Linked DNA regions of Homo sapiens: regions 1 and 2 are each linked to region 3. The links are contacts of gene promoters, found by promoter capture Hi-C in human tissues and cell types (Jung and others, 2019). All regions are on one chromosome and are shown on one strand. Each heading gives the region's core, a stretch centred on a gene start or on the middle of the fragment in contact. The rest is flanking DNA. Distances are from core to core; before and after follow the strand shown.

Evidence for each region. Contacts are between HindIII fragments. The study calls those that stand out against the background at their distance.
Region 1: a contact is called between a fragment that was not itself captured here and the fragment with the promoter of FGFR2 in region 3, in 2 of the 25 tissues and cell types used here (mesendoderm cells and thymus).
Region 2: a fragment that was not itself captured here is called in contact with the fragment with the promoter of FGFR2 in region 3 in 1 of the 25 tissues and cell types used here (dorsolateral prefrontal cortex).

The regions. Positions count from the first base shown.
Region 1 is chr10:121,097,753-121,102,415 of GRCh38, reverse strand. No RefSeq gene overlaps it. Among named protein-coding and RNA genes, the nearest start is that of LINC01153, 78 kb to the left of the region's middle. The HindIII fragment of the contact is 5,713 bases long and covers 1-4,663 here.
Region 2 is chr10:121,147,121-121,151,291 of GRCh38, reverse strand. The region is part of intron 1 of LOC124902515 (a long non-coding RNA gene); the gene reads left to right. All of the region lies in intron 1 of LOC105378522 (a long non-coding RNA gene), which reads right to left. Among named protein-coding and RNA genes, the nearest start is that of LINC01153, 29 kb to the left of the region's middle. The HindIII fragment of the contact is 5,059 bases long and covers 276-4,171 here.
Region 3 is chr10:121,597,171-121,601,394 of GRCh38, reverse strand. FGFR2 (fibroblast growth factor receptor 2) reads left to right here and starts at 2,951. Exons shown (of 18, transcript NM_000141.5): 1 at 2,951-3,433. RefSeq lists an enhancer at 3,745-4,224. The HindIII fragment of the contact is 2,645 bases long and covers 1,818-4,224 here.

The DNA.
Region 1 (4,663 bases), core at 933-3,432, 500 kb after region 3:
TTTTCTGGTGGGCAATTAATTTCGTTCCTTTGGGAAAATATTCGATTGATGATAATGATGCAATGCATATTTTGGAGATAAATAATATCAAAATGATAAATAATATTAAATTGCTGTATTTTAGGAATTTGTGGGTGCTTAGAAATTGACATTAAATTTTTGTTGACTTAGAGATCCATTTCTCAGCATGCTCCAAGGAGGGTTCTCAAGAATTTGAGATGGAAGAAGGGGGACCAGGCATGAGGCTTTTGGATTACTTTGAAATTCTGTGTCTTCAGGAGAACTAAAGACTTTTTTTCCAAATGTTCTTTGTTTGTTTCTAGAGTACTGTGCCACACTTTCAAGAACCCACTCTGCAGTTACTTCCAGATTTCTTTTTGGGGTTTCTATTTTCTTTTTCTTTTTTCCTCTCTATCTCTTTTACGAGCAGAAAAGATAGACTGGTAGAGGGATATGGGGAGTACATTTATCATGGCTTTACGACCCCAGTGCTTCCAAAAAAATAAGCATTCCCCTCTGAGCATCTTCCCTGGGTCTGCTGTCTGTCTGTGAAATCTTCAAAGATGCCTCTTCCAGGCATTATGACATTTTTTTTTCAGCTACATTAAGATAACGCCATTCCTCAGTTGAATACCAGACAACATTTTTGGCTAAGTTCTTCAAGGAATACACTAACAAAATTCACATCTGTGACCACTGACTTCAATGGAGCACACTGATTATCAATATCTCCCTGGATTCATGAGAGGGACTCTGGGAAAGCCATTAAGACATTTACTAATTCTTCTTTTTTCCCCCTTCCTGGTACATAGTAGAGTGGCACTTCTCTCCCGCCTTTGAAGTTAAGCGTGATCATGTGACTTGATTTGGCCCTTGAAATGTGAATGGCAGAGCCAAGAGCTAGAGCATAATTTACCACATTCTCTTTCCCTGTGCCATGGCAACCAGCAATATTTTAGAAGGTGAAGACTCCATTGGCTGGTGACGCCCTGATGATCCATGATGGATATTGATATTCACCATGGTATAAGTACTGGATGAGTGGGAGTCTAGGTCTGGATGTCTTTCCATGGGGAATTTCCCGACTTGAAGAGAGTTGGCATCTGAGGTTCCTTTCTAGTCTAAATTACCAATTACTATAAAATGTTAGTTGGAAGTTGACATTGGGGTCTTGCTGCATGGTGCCTCCTTAGTATGTTTTCTGTCTTATATTCAAAGATCTAGGTACAGATTTTGTCACTGCCTCTTATTAGCTAAGCAACCTTTATTAGCCAAACATGTAAACCCACGATTCTTGAACCCCAGTTCTGAAAATCTAAAAGGGAGGTGGCAATAAGCACAACCTATTTCATGGCAGTTTTGTGAAATCTTCAAGTCAAAGCAAGATGGTGCTTGTGGAAGTGCAGTCTAGCCCACTAGATGTGGAAAGCAGTCATTACTGTGGCATCATGCCTAGCTACAAGGGTACACATATGCCTACCAAGTCTTGGTTGCTGGGATGAACGTTAGTGTAGATGGTGCCCACGTTCTGTTTGGGTCAGAGTTTATAGTGCCTGACTGGATGGAAGAAACTTTTTCTGAACTTCGGGATTGGAGGATCCATGTCTATTCTGAATGGTGCTACTTGTAGTTGAGCTCTCTTTTCCAAACACAAGTTATGCATCTTGGCTCACCCATTTGTAAAGCACCCCAAATCTCTCCCTTCTCTGGCTGAAGCTTTATAAAGTGACGCCTTAAAATACACTGTAAGGGCAGAAGGGTTATACAAAGACTCCTGACAGTGGCACTGATCCTTTCTCCATCTGAGAGTGCTCAAGATCCCCTTCAGTCATTTGGTCCCATTATTTCCTGTCTGCGTGGTTTCCAATCCCAGGAATCAATCATTTCGGTGATTTCCAATCAGTGAGAGGCAAGGCAGAATTTACCAACTTCTGAGCTGTCTTTCTAGCAGAAAGATTCCATTTCTTGGACGAACCTCCACCAATTTCTATAAATTGATCTTTTGCTATGGAGAAATAAAAAAGCTATATGCATATATAGCTATATGCATACTGTAATAAATAGATATATATGCTTGCAATATATATATATTATAAATATATATATATATATATTGCTAAGTGGTACGATTCTATTTTCATAAACTTGGAATTGCACAGAGATCCCGAACAACTCAATTCTTCAAATCTTTCTTTCTTCTCTCCTTCTCTCCCTCCCACCCACACTTCCTTTCCTGAGACATTTTGATCAGTTATCTGCTGATCCTGGCTTTCTTTGGAGAAATAATCCACTGGACATCTTCCAAAGCAGCTCCTGAGAAGGGAATGGTGGTAACTCCCGTAGATATAATGGTCTTCTCTTCAAGACTCTTCCTTCCAACAAGCCCCCTTAGGACAGGTTGCCTTGCCATTCCGGAGTATGGTTAGAGCCTGGGCAGGGATGTCAGGCAGTAACTGAGTCATTCATAAGTCTGGCCACAGCACAAAAAGAGAAATCCTTTCTCTGCTCTGGACCCCCACCCCAGCCAAACAGTTACAGCTTATCTTTAAGAAGATTAGAGAACCTCTGGCTCAAGGCTGGCTTTCTTTCTATGCCAAAAGGCCTGGCAGATCAAAGTCAACATTACTTCACATAGCTGGTGGCTTATCTCCTGCCTGTCCTAAGACCACTGACCTCTCAATTAAGGCTTTAACAACAATTTCTCTTTGGAGAGGAAACCCTCATAGGCTGGAGGACAGTTTACACTACCAGACCTCTGGCTCTGACCCCACTGGCTGTGCAGTCTGTCATGACTGCTCACAATGCAATTAGGAGGTGGTTTTCAGTTCCCTTATAAAGAAAAAAATGTTATTTTTACTGAAAATATCTCCAAGTGTCCTAAAGCATTCTATTTTTCATATCTAATGAGGTGACAGTGGAATTTGTGAGATGACTATAACTTTATCAAGCTTTAATGCTAACACTCCTCTCAAATCCAGAGCTCTGTGGCGCGTTGAAGGAGACATTGATCATCCGAAGCACTGTATGATTAATTGATGCGTCTTTGCATATTCTTTTGCTTTCTCCAAGAAGTCTGCTCCTCACCTCCTGTATTGTTTCAGCCTCACTGGAGTTTCATTCCAAACATGGCTTGCTAGTTTGTGAGTTTTTAGCTGATTAAATTTAAATTGAACGCTAAAGAAAATTATTTTGTGCTCTGGCACTGAAAAACTCCCTGAAAGATGGGGACTTTTCAGACAGATATTCTAAGCCTCAGTGAATTATGAATATACAATTTTTTTTAAACTAGCAGATAAATTCCTTGTATTGAACGTCTGTACCAGTTACCCTGGAAGATACCATAGAAGAATATAGCATGTCTCTCCTCTTGAGAAGCTTACACTGTAATTAGGGAGATAGCAACACAAGGAGGGTGGTTGATTAAGTGTGAGACTATTGCAATAGATTAGAGCTCAGGGTCTGAGTCAGACAGATCTGGGTTTGAGTCTCAGCATTGCTCGTTATAATCTGTGCAGCCTTGGGAAAATTATTAAATGTTGTGAGCCTCAATTTCTTTGTCTATAAAACTTGGAAAAGCATCTGCAAACTATCTCACAGAGTTGTTGTAAGGATAAAATGACATAAAGCATGAAAGTATGTAGCCTAGTACATGGCATATGGTAAATAATAAGTGGTAACTGCTATTGTTTTACTATTATTTCCAGTAAATACTGGTAAATTCTGTAAAGTTGCTTATAAAAAATTTTACCGAGAGACTGGCAGATAGGAAGCCCTTTCCAGGGCACAGGCAGACAGGAACACCAGCTGAACATTGAGAGGACAACTGGTAAGCCCTCAGGAACCACTCGTTGGCAATTGATTTTATACACATTTTCCTAGTCATTCATATCTTATCTGCCTGCACTACTTGCTCAGAATTACTGAGGGAGCCACAAAGTTAGTTTGCTGTATTTGTTACAGATGAGGGTCAGTTGTCATTTCCATCATAAAATCCATGCTTCATGGATCTAAAGCTTGGAATTTAAAATGACACGGGGCTTAAACTCTACTTAACGCTTTTGATTTAAAACCTACTCAGAGAACAAGAGTTCTTAAGTCCACATGGCAGATAATACCACTGCTGCCTCTTTGGTATAAGTTACCTTTGAAAATGAATTCTATATCTGGCCTTGCACAGCCTTTTCAATGATAAATAGCTTTAAACAAAGAGTCATAAAAAATCAACACTTTCATAAAGCAAATAATCAACCACATTGGCTTTCTCTACGGGAGAATTAATGGTGTCTTGGGAAGGTTCCATTTTCATGCATTTTGATGATGACTTTTTAAAATGGCTACTTTAGAAAAGAATGCTTTAAGCAGAGGAAGGAGAAATATTTTTTACTATTTCCTTAGCCTCTAGAGGTATATATTTAATACATTTATATTTTTATATGAAATTTTATTTAAAGGTAAAAATGCATTACATGTTATATCAGTAAACATTTTTTCTTTTGGCTTATGAATCAAAGACATACTACAACTAAATGTACATCTGTTAGCAGACTGATCCTAAAGCATTTGACTTATAAATAATGAGATCAGTATTCCACAGGAAGTATCTGATAGCCCACATCAGCAAGGAATTTTAATTTTTTTGTTAAAAAAAAATTGCTCTGATTTC
Region 2 (4,171 bases), core at 1,556-4,055, 450 kb after region 3:
ATTGAAACAGATCAATAGTGGATAAGGATTGACTCAGTAATAAAATATCTCCTAACAAAAAGCTCAGGCCCTGGTGGCTTCACTGGTGAATTCTACAACATTTGAGGAAGAATTAATGATAGTCCTTCTCAAACTCTTAAACAACAACAACAACAACAAAAAAAAAAAAAAAAAAAAAAAAAGAGAGAGAAAAAAAGAAAAGAAGGGAAAGAACACATTCAAACTTATTTTACAAAGTCAACATTATCTAGATACTACAGCCAGACAAGGACACTACAAAAGAAAAAAATCACAGGCCAATATCCTTGATGAACATAGATGCAATCATCCTCAACAAAATACTAGCAATTCAGTGGCATGTTAAAAGGATCATACACAATAATGAAGTGGGATTTATCCTTGGGATACAAGGATGGTTCAAGATATATGTCTTATTCTATTTTCTATTGTTTGCAATAGAAATCCTGAAACTGGGTAATTTATAAAGAAAATGAATTTATTTCTTACAGTTATGGAGGCTGAAAAGTCTAAGGTCAAGGAGCCACACCTGGTGAGGGCCTTCTTGCTGTTGGGGACTCACTGCAGAGTCTCAAGGAAGCATATGGTATCACATGGTGAGGAAGCTGAGCATGCTCATTCAGCTATCTTCCTCTTGTTATAAAGCCACCAGTCCCACTCCCATGACTCCCAGTAATCTATTAACTCTTTGATCCATTAATTCATGAATGAATTAATCCATTTATAAGGGCAGAACCATCATTCCCCAATCACCTATTAAAGGCTCCACCTCTCAATACAGCCACAATGGGGATTAAGTTCCAATATGAGTTTTGGAGGGATCAAATATTCAAACCATAGAAATACGGAAATCAACACATTTGATATACTGTACTAACAGAATAAAGATTATAAAAATCATGTGATCACTTCATTAGATGCAGAAAACCCATTTGACAAAATCTAGCAGATTTTTATGATATAAACTATCAACTAATTAGGTGTAGGATACATGTACCTCAACATAATAAAGGACATATAAAACAAGCCCACAGCTTATATTACATCAGCAGTAAAAAGCTGAAGGCTTGCCTCTAAGATCAGGAACAAGACAAGGATGTTCACTGTCACAATTGCTGTTCAACATAGTACTAGAAGTCCTGATCATAGCAATTAGACAATAGAAAGAAAAGGCATTTAAATTGGAAAAAAAGAAGTGAAATTGTTTCTGTTTGAAGATGACATGATCTTATATATAGAAAACCCTAAAAACTCCACCAAAAAGCTTTGAGAAGCAATAAGCAAATTCAGTAAAGTTGTAGGATATAAAATCAACATGCAAAAACCAGTAGCATTTCTATACCCTAGCAACAAAGTATCTGAAAAAGAAATCAAGAAAATTTCAACTTGAGGTTTGGAGAGGCAAACATCTAAACTATAGCAAGCATCAAAAAATAAAATATTTAGGAATAAATTTAACCAAGAAGGTGAAAGGTTTGTACACTGAAAACCGTAACACATTCATGAAAGAAACTGAAGAGGGTATACATAAATGGAAAGACACCCTGTGTTCATGCTTGTTCTTTTTTTCAGATGGGCATTTTCAACCAGTGGCCATCACTGTTTTGGTTTGTCCATAATAGCCACAGTAGTTATTGTTCATTGAGCACCTACTCTGTGCAGGATTTGGAGCCTCCTTCTAGAGCCTGTGTTCTTAACCATTGTGCTTACTGCCCTTGCCCCTGTCTGGCAGAGGTACTCAACAAATGATGGCTTGTAGTTTTGAGGTTCTATGGAATGGAAAATTATTTGGGGCCACCAAACAAGTGTGTGGGGTGAAATTTAAAGTCAATTATTTATTCTTGGAAGTTAAGCCTCCTGGAAGCAGATGGAGACACAGTTCCCATTGGCACCTACACAAGCCACGCTGTCCTCTCGGCTTCATCATGGCCAGGAGGGAGCTGGCCATTCTCAGCAATGCTGTGTTGTCTCCGATGATATCAACTGACCGCCCCAGGAACCCCACAGCCTCCCCGACTCCAACCTTATCTTTGAACAAAATACCTTCCTCTGCACATCATCGAGCTGCTTGTGAGGCTTGCTTTGCTCCTCAATCAGGCTCTATTCATCTGTGACCCTAGACGTGAGCAGAGGAGCACGGGGCAGGCCCTTCTTTCCACCTGAGTGGCTGCGATATGAAGACTTGCTTTGGAACACTGAGGTGCCCTGAGCATCTCTGTGCTCCCTGGGCCCTGCACCGCTGCATGAAAGACCCTTCTTGTTCTGTGAGCGGCCGACTGTGAGATAACCGCCAAGGTGCTTTTCATGTGGCCACATCCAGGCACTCCCGTCTGCCTTGTAATCGCCAAGTTAAAGGTAACTCGATAGGCAGATAGGGAAGGAGCCTGGAACTTGGGTCTATAGCCCTTTATCCCTACTTTTAAAAAATTAAGATGGAAATAGTTTTAATTGTTAAATTCCCCCTGCTTTCTTAAATATCTCAGTATGCAATTTGGCAAGCAGCTAAGTTCATTTCTTAGTTGGAGAGAAACTAAAGCCCCTGAAATTTTAGTCATTTGCTTATGTCCTATTATTCCAGAATCATTTGGTCGTACTCATGGCTTCACAGTTGATCCAATAAGGCATGGGGTGAAGATCACAGGATGCCTTGTTATTATCTCCTGTGCAGTTCCTGCCTTCTGCCATGCTCTATTCACTCCTAGAAACAGCCAGGAGCCAGTCAGAGATAAGTGGAGTGCATGAATTCCTGAAGAGACTGAAGGATATAGTAACATATACATTGCTTTTTACTTTACTTTGGATGTTGATGTTGCCAGCAGGAAATGGCTGTCATGGAAAAACTTTACTGGGTGAACAGGGAAGAGTCGTATGCCTCTCTAAGAGTCCATCCTCCAATCTGCAATGGTAAGGGTGTGATCAGAGATTCTCTACCACACTGAGAATGGAAAATTATCTGAGACCTATTTTCAATAGTCCTGCAGGACAGCTTCCGGAAAAGAACATGCATCCTTCAAAGGTCACATTGACACCTAGATTTGCTGATCATCCTGGCCTGCCTGGGAATGAAGGAATTCCTGGGATGCTAACCTCAAGACAGTCTTGGAAAAATCTAGAAACAAGAATTTTAATTATTATAAGCAATTTTACCCTACCTTTCTGAATACATTTATTAGTAAAAACTGCAGGATTTGTGTAACATGCAAACACCTGTGCTTTGTTAGTGGTTAGCATGTGTCTCTTTCAGACTGTGGGGCATTTTCAACAGAGATCAGAGTGGCTCCATTGTAAGATGCTAGAACTGTGGTTCTCACAGGGACTAGGAGTGAGTCAAGCATTACTATTTGGGGTCTAGGATGTCAAGTTCCTAAAATAAGAATTTCATCCAAAACACTGGTAGCAACCCTGCTGAGGAACACTGGCTCTAGCCATGTTTCTTCCCCTGCCCCTGGTCTTGATCCTAGATTAGTTGGTGGTCCAGCCCATTGAGCGAACATAACAATTGGTGGTGTAGGGGTGTGGAGGGGGTGGAAGCTGCTCTGTAAAGAGAGGTGGCACTTCTACATTTACTTGTTCATTTATTTTAGGAAATATGTATTGAGCACTTACTATGTACTCTGGGAATAAAGGGCAAATAAGGCATGGTTTCTTCCCCATGGAGCTTATACTCTAGCAAGAAATGCAGCAAAAAAAAAAAAAAAATTGCTGATGACTGCTAAGAAAGAAGAAATCAAGGATGATGAGGAGCCCAAAGCAGGGTAACTGACTGGGTGAGACCCTTCAACAGGGGTCACCAGAAACCTTTTACAGGGGCATTACTGCTGGCATCAGGTCGGTGCCCCTCTGGGACAGATCCCAGAGGAAGGAGCTGGCAGCTATCTTTGCTGTTTTGCTGCCTCCACTGGTGACACCTCCAGGTGTGGGAGGGACCCAGGGGCATAGGGTCTGGAGTGGACCCACAGCAAACAGCAGCAGCCCTATGAAATAGGGGCCTGACTATTAAAAGAAAAACAAACAGAAAGCAACAACAACAACAGCATCAACAAAAAATTGTCCCCCAAAATACCCCATCCAAAGGTCAGCAGCCTCAAAGATCGAAGCTAGATAAACTCACAACCATGAGAAAGAATCAATGAAAAAATGCTGAAAACTCAAA
Region 3 (4,224 bases), core at 1,702-4,201:
CCAGCCCCTCCCCTTACCCAGAAGTAAATACTCTTATCATAGTCCTCCGACTATTCTATATCCTTCCATTTGAGTGCTTCTTTTATGCCGAGGGCACTATTGAGATGTAGCTTAGAGAATGAAATTCCTGGTGTTGCAGGGAGCTCAGATCCACCCGGGAAGGTTCATGAGCACTTCATGTCAGCAGCCTTTATTTCATCTAACGTTTCCATAGAGTGAAGGAACAGCCACCCATTACAAAACAAATTATTAAAAGAAAAATTCCAAATCTTCAAAGGAGAGAGGCCCATGGTAGTGAGCGCTCCCACCCCCTTCTCCTTTCTCTTCCCATCACCAACGGGCTAGCAGCACAATTTGTTTCTTGAAACTTTTGGGGGCATCGGAGTTCTGGTGTCCTCATTTTTCTTCCTTCCCATTGATGTATCATTACTAGAGTGAAAAAAGAAGGGCGTCTCGAGGGCTTTTGAAAAAAAAAAAGGGTGACTACTCAAGACATTTTGTAAAGGGGGGAAAATTGCGAAGAAAAGAGACCTCAGTAGGGGGTGGAGGAACTGTGAATGTGTCCTTGTCTGGCGGTTCTTTCAGCTGAAACCTGGTGCTGGCGTTCGCAGTTCAGTTCAAACTGTCACCTTTAGTTCTTACTGGCTTTTCTGCCCTTGCCCCAGAACCTCAACAGATTGGGGCTTATTTACCTATTCACACTCCGCCGTGGAAGCTCATTAATAGGCTTTATTAGCAACACCATTCATGGGAGGCCATTGACGAAAGGGGTTCCAGCCACTTGAAGAGGGAAGAGAAAAGAAAAAACTGTAAAGAGATTATTTTCTCATTCAGAAGCCTCAGTGGTGTGAAGGTTTTCCTGGATGGTCTGAGGTCACTTGAAGACTAAATATGGGGACATAATTGATTTTTTAAAAATAATTCTAAACATACTTCCCCCCCCTCCTCAAAACTGAAGAGTTTCCTGTTGTGGTCTTGTGGGTTTCAGTCCCTTATATATGAGCCCTCTTTAGGGAATAAGGAGCTTTTGATAGATTGGTGTCTTTTCATTTCTATAAAAAATACATTCTGCAAACTGTGCCTGGACATGAAAGTAGGTGTTCTTATTTGTCATTTTCAGCGGAAAGCTTCCTTTCCATTCAACATGCATAAAGCTATTGATGAATGGGGGATAGGGACAGCGGCTTCCTGCACCATTAATTTATGTGAGAATGTGTTAACAGCATTTTCAATGGCTGATGGATGCGGTGTAGGATGGGAAAGGAACTGTCCTGAGACACTCGAGTTTCCCATTGGTGGGGAATATAAAGATGTAAGTGGCAACCTGCGAGCAGGCAGACACGTTCAGCTGCATCCCTTTTCTGAGAACTTGAAAACATACTGCTATCAGAACAACCCGTGTGGGAGTGAATGGCTAAGTGTCAACCTGGGCTGAGGTGTCCGTTAATGTATAGGCTCTGGGGCTAATCCAGGTTAGAGGACTTGACCAAAAACATACCCTCCCACCAAGCATATAGAGGGATAATTTTGCTTAAGAACCAGTTTTTATTTTGTTGCTATCAAATTTCCAAAATACAATGTTATAGCCTTTTGCCTGAGGCAGTTAAATGGATTTCTTACTTGTGTGGCTTTTAAATAACTTGCATAAACGTTTTCTGTGCTATATTTGTGAATAAAAATGATTTTCTAATCATGTAGCACCTTGAAAAATATTTTTGTAAATGTTATGAAGGGTGCAATGTTAGTGACACAGGTGCAAATATGTTTCTAAATCCAGGAAAAGTCTGTTTTCCAAGTCAGGTTTGTTCTCAATGCTTCATCTATCTTCAGGCCTCAAAAGGATTCTAAAGCATTTCTGGGTTTAGTGACCTTTTCTAAAGAAAAATAATTAAGGTTTTAATCTATATGGTCTTGAACTTAAGCACGGCTGCTCAGGAGCTGGATGAATAAGGAGGGAGAAAAAGCATATTTAAAATAAATTATTCCGAAGACACGGCTTAGTGAAAAGGTAAATGGACATAGGAACTTTAACCAGTTACAGCTTGGTGTGCAGTTGAAGAATCAGATTTTGCATTTATGATTTTTAATCTAAGATTCAGAGGGAGGAATTACTTTGTTCAAGGTCTATTTATGGTAGAGTTGTCTTTAGACTCCTTTGAATTTCTTTTTATTAATCCAAACATATATTATTAAACACTTTTTTTTTTTGATGCAATTTTGGCTTTTTCTGAGAGAGCCACATTCAAAGTCAGGCTGTCCTAGTAGCCAGCTGTGTGGTCCTAGGCAAATTACTTAACCTCTCTGATCCTGTTTCCTTATCAGAAACTGGGAATAGTACTCTGCAGGGTGGTTGGGCAGATGAAATAGAATCACCTATGTAGTGTGACCCTCCCATAGTAGGGCCTCCATTAATATTCAGTTTTTTCCTCTCATTTCTATTGTTTAGAAGGACAGAAACATGCAATGTCCTGCGAACATTTCCAAGTGGCTTCCTCTCCTCCAAAAGCTTCAGCTGCCTGGCAACCCTCCCCGCAGTATCAAGCAGGCGCATTTTAAAGTCTCTTTAGCGGGAGGGCAGGGTTAGAGCCTTCGGTCATTTGTTTTCTAACTTGACATAAAACAACGTAACGCAGTCGCTCAGCGAGCCGTTGGCCAGCCTCGCTCGCCCGGGGAGGAGGGAGGAGGTGGCGCGGGGCGCGGGACCAGGCCTTATTCGGAGGCTGTCGCTGCATCCCTACGGCCGCATCGCGGCCGAGCCCTCGCCTCCCGGGCCGGTGTCTCCGGCTGCTCGGAGGCGTCGGGAGCCGCGCGGGACTCGGGGCGGCCCGGGCGCGCGGCGCTGATTGGCAGAGAGGGCGCCGCCGTCCAGGAAACGGCTCGGGTTTCAGTGGGGGCGTGACCCGCCGCGAGGAGGCGGGGGCGGCGGCGGCGGCGCGGGCGGCGGCTGGAGGAGAGCGCGGTGGAGAGCCGAGCGGGCGGGCGGCGGGTGCGGAGCGGGCGAGGGAGCGCGCGCGGCCGCCACAAAGCTCGGGCGCCGCGGGGCTGCATGCGGCGTACCTGGCCCGGCGCGGCGACTGCTCTCCGGGCTGGCGGGGGCCGGCCGCGAGCCCCGGGGGCCCCGAGGCCGCAGCTTGCCTGCGCGCTCTGAGCCTTCGCAACTCGCGAGCAAAGTTTGGTGGAGGCAACGCCAAGCCTGAGTCCTTTCTTCCTCTCGTTCCCCAAATCCGAGGGCAGCCCGCGGGCGTCATGCCCGCGCTCCTCCGCAGCCTGGGGTACGCGTGAAGCCCGGGAGGCTTGGCGCCGGCGAAGACCCAAGGACCACTCTTCTGCGTTTGGAGTTGCTCCCCGCAACCCCGGGCTCGTCGCTTTCTCCATCCCGACCCACGCGGGGCGCGGGGACAACACAGGTCGCGGAGGAGCGTTGCCATTCAAGGTAATCGCCGCGCAAGACGCCTCGGGGAGCTTCGCCAGCCGGGGACGTGGGCGCCACGGGAGCCCGGGACGCCGGGTGCACCGTCCTCCGGGCGGGGGGCGCGGAAGGACTAGCATTGTGGAGGACGCTCCGTGTCCTCCCTCTGTGGCTGCATAGGTGATGGGGGAGGTGGGTGCGTGCTGACGGCCGGCGTTCTGGAAGTTCTGCCTCTGCTACCCCCATCCAGATGCTGACATCTGCTTCTGGCGTTGACGCCCCCCTCCCTGTCAAACCCTGGCGGGCGCATTCCCGCTGACTGGGCGCGTTTCTCCGACCCCAGAGCAGACGGGCGGAAGGTTCGCCTGCCCGTGGCACAGCCCCGCAGGCCGGTTCCCGGGGTCATCTCCGAGGTGCCCCATCCGTGTGTCCTGGGAACTTCCGTACCATCCAGGCCCTGCGGAGACCCCTTTTTCGGGAGGGGGCCGCTGGGGTGGGGCCGGTGACATCCCGTAGGGGTGGCGATGGCCAGGGGTGGCACTGCTGGGGAGGCGACGGCTCCGGTGCCTGGGCGCCCCTCGCCCGCAGCCGCCGTCGGCGCTGGAGGGAGCGCAGTGCGCCTGGGGCTAGGGGGCGAACTGGACCGACTTTTTCTAGTTCGCCTGCCTGCTCTGCCGCAGCGGCTGGGAGATGTCGAAAGCGCAGGCGAGTTCTAACTTGCGCGCTCATTTTTTTCGGCCACGGGGCCGCGCTGGGGAAAAAAGCCGAGGGCCCTGCGTGGCGCTGGCTCCGACCCTCGCGGACCACGGACCTGG